Linked DNA regions of Homo sapiens: region 2 is linked to region 1. Evidence: promoter capture Hi-C in 16 types of primary human blood cells and fetal thymus (Javierre and others, 2016). All regions are on one chromosome and are shown on one strand. Each heading gives the region's core, a stretch centred on a gene start or on the middle of the fragment in contact. The rest is flanking DNA. Distances are from core to core; before and after follow the strand shown.

The links. The method cuts DNA at HindIII sites, captures the fragments that hold promoters and counts their contacts. A CHiCAGO score of 5 or more calls a contact.
Region 2: a contact is called between a fragment that was not itself captured here and the fragment with the promoter of AP5Z1 in region 1, in 1 of 17 cell types (M0 macrophages). The highest score is 5.7, in M0 macrophages.

Annotation. Positions count from the first base shown.
Region 1 is chr7:4,774,189-4,777,007 of GRCh38, forward strand. It overlaps AP5Z1 (adaptor related protein complex 5 subunit zeta 1), which reads left to right and starts at 1,435. Exons shown (of 17, transcript NM_014855.3): 1 at 1,435-1,568. The coding sequence starts at 1,528. RefSeq lists enhancers at 177-853, 854-1,530, 904-953, 994-1,083, 1,514-1,583 and 2 more and a silencer at 1,264-1,393. The HindIII fragment of the contact is 11,700 bases long and covers 1-2,819 here.
Region 2 is chr7:2,761,567-2,764,359 of GRCh38, forward strand. The region is part of intron 2 of GNA12 (G protein subunit alpha 12); the gene reads right to left. It also overlaps a transcript of AMZ1 not described here. Among named protein-coding and RNA genes, the nearest start is that of AMZ1, 75 kb to the left of the region's middle. RefSeq lists enhancers at 465-994, 1,525-2,053. The HindIII fragment of the contact is 1,308 bases long and covers 841-2,148 here.

The DNA of each region.
Region 1 (2,819 bases), core at 185-2,684:
CACTCCACCGACTCCCATCCACCGCTCACCATCCACCGATTCCCATCTCTTCATTCTCTGCACCAGGTGCCCTCAGACATCACTGGGCGCCCTAGGGCATCTCAAAGCCATGTTTGGAACTCCTGCAGGAAGCCCTCCCTCCTCCTCCTCCTTCCTTCCATCCAGGGGTCTTCTCGGGGCTTATCCCTTCAAGGCCTAACCTTGACCCACCCTATCTACGCAACATTGATTCCCACCCCTACCCTATTCCCCAGAACCTTCAGCAGTGCCTAGCGCAGCTAGGACTCAATCATCGCTTGTCCACTTAATGAATGACTCTTGGCACAAATTTCCTCGTCCTTTTCTGCCCCAGACAGACACCCCACAAACATGAAGTTACCCTTGATTTTTCCACTTTCTTCCTCCTGCCTGCAAATTCCTCAATCACAGGTGGTGCAAATCCTACCTCTAAATGGTACTGAATCTGCCTACTTTCGGGGCAACCTCCCTTACCTGGACCACAACTGCACCAGCCTCCTTTCTCCCTCAGGAGCTTCCCAATCCATTATCTCCCCTGCGGCCAGAGATCAGTTTCCTCCTGGGGTGCATTTAAGCCATAGGAAGCAGATCGCTACCCTAGGCCCGTCCCTCCCCACCCCTTGGTCTGGACACCCTCTGGGCTCATCTTAGGCCGCAGTCGCCGAAGCCTTCCTCCTCCGGTTGGACCCCCAACCAGGTCAGGCTGTCATAGCGTTTATCATGACGCTGGCGTGTCGCCCTGTGTCCCTCGGCCGTCTGCAGGATGGCAAACTTATGGCCAGGGCCCAGCACATTTGGGCACCCAACACATCCGTTAGAATGAACAGAAACTTCCCCTCTCCGAGCCTGTGGCCTCATCTGTAAAACAGAGATCGCGAGATCCCATGAATACCGTGGGGATTGAATAAGGGATTTTTTCGTTTCAAGCAGCAGGAACAGCGCGGGATGGGTGCTCAATAAATGGGAGCTCAAAAAATCCCCAAAACTGCCCAGAGCCGCGGCTATTCCTTGCAAACTGCTGGACACTGCTGGGCTCAGCCCACAAGTGTCGGAGTTTGCATCAGATTTTCAGGTCGTACTTAGCAAAGGGACTCCCGCACGACAAAGCTGTTTACGAAACAGAAACCAGAACTGGGGCAGTGACACTTTGGGGCCAGCAATGCCCTCTCCCAAAGCCCCAGGCGCCCAATTTCCGCCGAAATGCTTTCCGGGGTCGAAGGGCGCCGGGGCTCCAGAGTGCCGAGGTTCCGGGGTCGCGCGATTCCGCAGCTCCCAGGCGCCGACCCGGACCCCCGGCCGCGGCACCTACGCCCCGCCCCAGTCGCTCCACGCCAAAGCCCATTGGTCGGCAACCTGTCCCTCCTGCTCATGTGATGCGGCACGTGACGCAGCCACGTAAGGCCGCTGCGCTCACGTGACGCGGTCCCGGAAGTTGACCGGGGTGCGGAGCTCCTGGGCTGCAGCTCCTGGAGTTTCCGAGGTTCGTGCGCGTCTGGTGGCGGCGGCGTGATGTTCTCGGCAGGAGCGGAGAGTTTGCTCCACCAGGCCAGGTACGGGGGAGCTGCGGCCCCGGCCCTCCTTCCTGCATCTCTCCCTAGGGGCACACGGGGGTGGGTCTCACAGGGCAGGGGCTTGGGCGCCAGCCTTGCAGGAACCCGACTGGACTCGCCCTCGAGACTTGGGGATCGGGTAAGGCAACACGGCGGCCAGGCTTGGGGTGAGGAGGTCGGGGAGGGTCATGGTGGGTCCCCGGAGGAGGTGACACTTGAGCAGAGTCTTGGTGAGTGAAAGCAAGTGGGGTGGGACCCAGTCGACAGTTTAGTCAAAGGCTTGGCGGTGAGAACTCCGCGTCTGGCAGGAAATCGGGCAGCCGGGAGATTTCAGTGCCTCACAGTCAAGAACGCAAAGTCACAGTGTCCGGAGGCCTGCTAAGGAATAAGGCTGTGTGCCAGGCTGGGGAGCTGGAGGCCATCCGAGGGCTTTGCGGAACCGTGGGAGGGTTTTGTGACTTAAAAAGATCTCTCTTGCGCGGATGTATTAGCTAGGCTGAGAAATCACCCTCCAGGCTGGTTTCAGGCTGTGTCTGGACTCCCAGTAACGAGTGAGTAGCTCCTTCCTCACCAACTAACCAGTCATGGGGGAAAACAGTGTAAGCCAGGACTGAACAGACTCACGGTCCACCAAACAGGCAAAGACTTCATACTACATGTTTAAAAGAAGAAAATGCTGACCGGGCGTGGTGGCTCACGCCTGTAATCCCACCACTTTGGGAGGCCAAGGCAGGCGGATCACCTGAGGTCAGGAGTTCGAGACCAGCGTGCCCAACATGAGGAAACCACGTCTCTACTGAAAATACAAAAAAAAAAAAAAAAAAAAAAATTAGCCGGGCGTGGTGGTGGGTGACTGTAATCCCAGCTACTCGGGAGGCTGAGGCAGGAGGATTGCTTGAACCTGTGAGGTGGAGGTTACAGTGAGCTGAGATGGCGCCACTGCACTCCAGGCTGGGGGACAGAGCGAAACTCCGTCTCAAAAGAAAAAAGAAAAAAAGTAAAGAAAATACAGCCAGCACTACAGCCCCTTGGTAAACGTAAACAAACTTGGTGAGGTGAGAGGCCGAAGCAGGAGAAGTGCATGAACCCAGGAGGCCGAGGGTGCAGTGAGCCAAGATCGCACCACTGGACTCCAGTCTGGGTGACAGAACGAGACTCCATGTCAAAACAAACAAGCAAACCTGGACTCAGAGCTAGACCAATTGGTGGGAAAGATTCGGGTGGTTGAAATTGCTGTGATTATAGTGAGTG
Region 2 (2,793 bases), core at 245-2,744, 2.0 Mb before region 1:
TCTACCGAATTCCTAGGATACAAACAGTTCTCACTTTACACAGGGCACGTTCCCGAACCGGCCTCTCAGGACGGAACCCAAAGACAATTTCACAGGATTTACAATTTGCAGCTATTGGTTCTCCTTTGACCGAATCCTTGAATTTGCTTAAAAAACAATGAAGAGTTGACAAGATGGGCCACTGGAAAATGAAAAGAGCATCGGCACTTCACGTTCATTAAAACGTGAAGAGATGACCAACTAATGCTGCTTTCATACCCTGGATAGTGCTGAGTACCTAACAGCTCTTTAGGTCACAACGTAAAATTCGGCTTCCAGCTGGTCCAGTTTTCCCATCTGTCGTATCCACGGAATGTCCAAATGTAAGGGAAAAATGTGGAGTGTCCAGCCGCCCACCAGTCCACCCAGCACCACAGCCTAACCTCACCGAGGCCTCCCAGCACTCACACAGAACACTCGCAGAGAACTGCGGCTCCATCCGCATTCCTTACCTTCATTACTGTCCCTACCTCCAGCCCCTCCAGAAAAAAGCGAAAGCGGCAGAGAAACCTGTGAAAACAAGACATGCCAAAAATACTGACTCAAAATACCAAAAGCTCTCACCCTGAGGTGGAGGGGTCAACCCAGGCTTCGTTTCTAGGAGAAGTTGTAAGGGCTTCGTGTTCTGCACTGCTAGGAAACACCACCCTGACTTAGGGTCGTCACAGAAGGTGCACATGGCGGGGCCGGCGTGCACCCACCACTCACGCCAGGCGCTGCGCGACTGCTGCTGGACACACACGATCCCACCGAATCCAGACACGGTATGGCGGTTCCCACTTTCCTCACTGAGGAAACCAAAGCTTAGACGTTAACTTGGCCAAGGGCAAAAACGCTACTTAACTCCAAAGTCCAGCCTCTGAACCCACCCGTGTGCGGGGCCTGAGGTGTGAGTAGCCTAACTGTGGACTACAAAAGCAGTTCCACCACGCCTTCTATTCTGGAGTTAGATCCAATGACATTTCCTGAAAATTACATTTACAAACCCAAAAAAGGACAATCCCCTTCCGGATAAGACCCCAATGCCATGAAGCACAGAGCGGCAGGACGATGAGAGGATAAATCATTTGGAAAGAAACCACGCTGCCCGGGTGGAGGAGCGCCAGAGGGAAGCAGGCCCCATGTCCTCCCTCCCGCAGGAAGTGCACCAGGCCCGTCCTTTCCACCCAGGCTGTACAAAAGGGAGGAGGAGCACTCAGGGCGGCCTCCCATCCGCCACACACCCAGTCAGCGCGGCTCCGAAGCAGGAGAGGGCCAGCTCCGAGCCCTGCTCGTGGAGCCATTGGTGCTGCGGCGGGGAGAAGAGGCCACAGGCGGGGACGCCCCAGACACTCCCGTGGGGCCCGTGCCAGGGTCTCCTGCTCCTCAGAAAGAGCCCTTGTGTGCTACTGTGGTCGCCAACAGCCCCGCCGGCCACTGGCCCAGGACTCAGCGTGCCGTTCCTCCAGGACGCAGACCGGGGCTCCCTACCAGCCTTGAGTGAGAGACCACAAGCAGCCTCTGAAGTCATCTTCCTCTCTCTTCTCAGAAGCATTTCTCGAATATTCTGCTGACAAGAGGTTAGCAGGACTTCACAAGACACCCCAACACACACACACACACACACACACACACACACACACACACGGTCTCAACACAGTTCAGAAAACACATTTGCCTTCCCAGGCCCGTGGGAGGAGTGCTGTGAGGCTGAGACACAGCCCGGCTTGCTGACGGCACAAATGCCGGTGCGCCCTCGGCACAGTTTGTTTGCTTCATCGGGCGGAGAAGGCCGAGTTCCAGCTCAGGGAGCCCACAAAGGAGCTCTTCCTATGGCCCTGCCAAACGCCTGGAGCAAAGGTTTTGTCTGGAAAAGCTCCCCGAGCTCCCTCAACCCCGGCAGCAGTGCTGCTCTATGGCTGAGGATGAAGCTCCAGTCCATGTCCCAAGCAGTGTCTCAATTCTCAATGGTCCTGTAATCTAAGGCTAGCTCGAAACAAAAAACAATTATTTTAAGGTCTAAAATATGCAGAAAGAGCTGCAGTGAACACATTTACACTTCCCAAGGACAAGCATCTAAGGAAGATCCCTGGTAAGAATGAGAAAGCCTGGGCTTGTCCAGGAAACCAAAGCTTCTTCTAAATGTGCCTTCCCTGCACAAAATGCCTCCCCCACAGGCTCTGCTTTTCCTGTCGCCTGGAACAAGAAAGCTCCCTGGGCAGGCGAGGCCGGGACCTCTGCACTGAGATCCCCACTCAGTGGCCTCCATGGCTGGCAGAGAGCGAGGGAGACGGAGAGAGAAGGAGCTCAGCTGAGCTGTTGCTTTAGAGTCTTGGTTAAAGTGAATCCAATTATGCACCCTTCTTTCCTATAGCAACACTACAGGGGCATGAGAACAGGGTACGCACCTAAAGTGAGGCTTGCCTATACTTTCTAGAAGTCTTCCTAAGGCTGCTGTGCTGGTGTCCTCTGATTGGTTGAGTATTTTTTATCATTTTGGTTTTGAGACAGGGTCTCACTCTGTTGCCCAGGTTAGGGGGCCGTGGTGCAATCATGGCTCACTGCAGCCTCAAACTGAAGTGGGCTCAAGTGATCCTCCTGCCTCAGCCTCCTGAGTAGCTGGGACCACGGGCACGTGCCACCTATCCCCAGCTAATTTCTTTTTTTTTTTTTTTTTTAATAAAGATGGGATCTCACTATGTTGCCCAGGCAGGTCTCAAACTCCTAGGCTGGAGTGATCCTCCCATCTCAGCCTCCCAAAGTGCCAGGATTCCA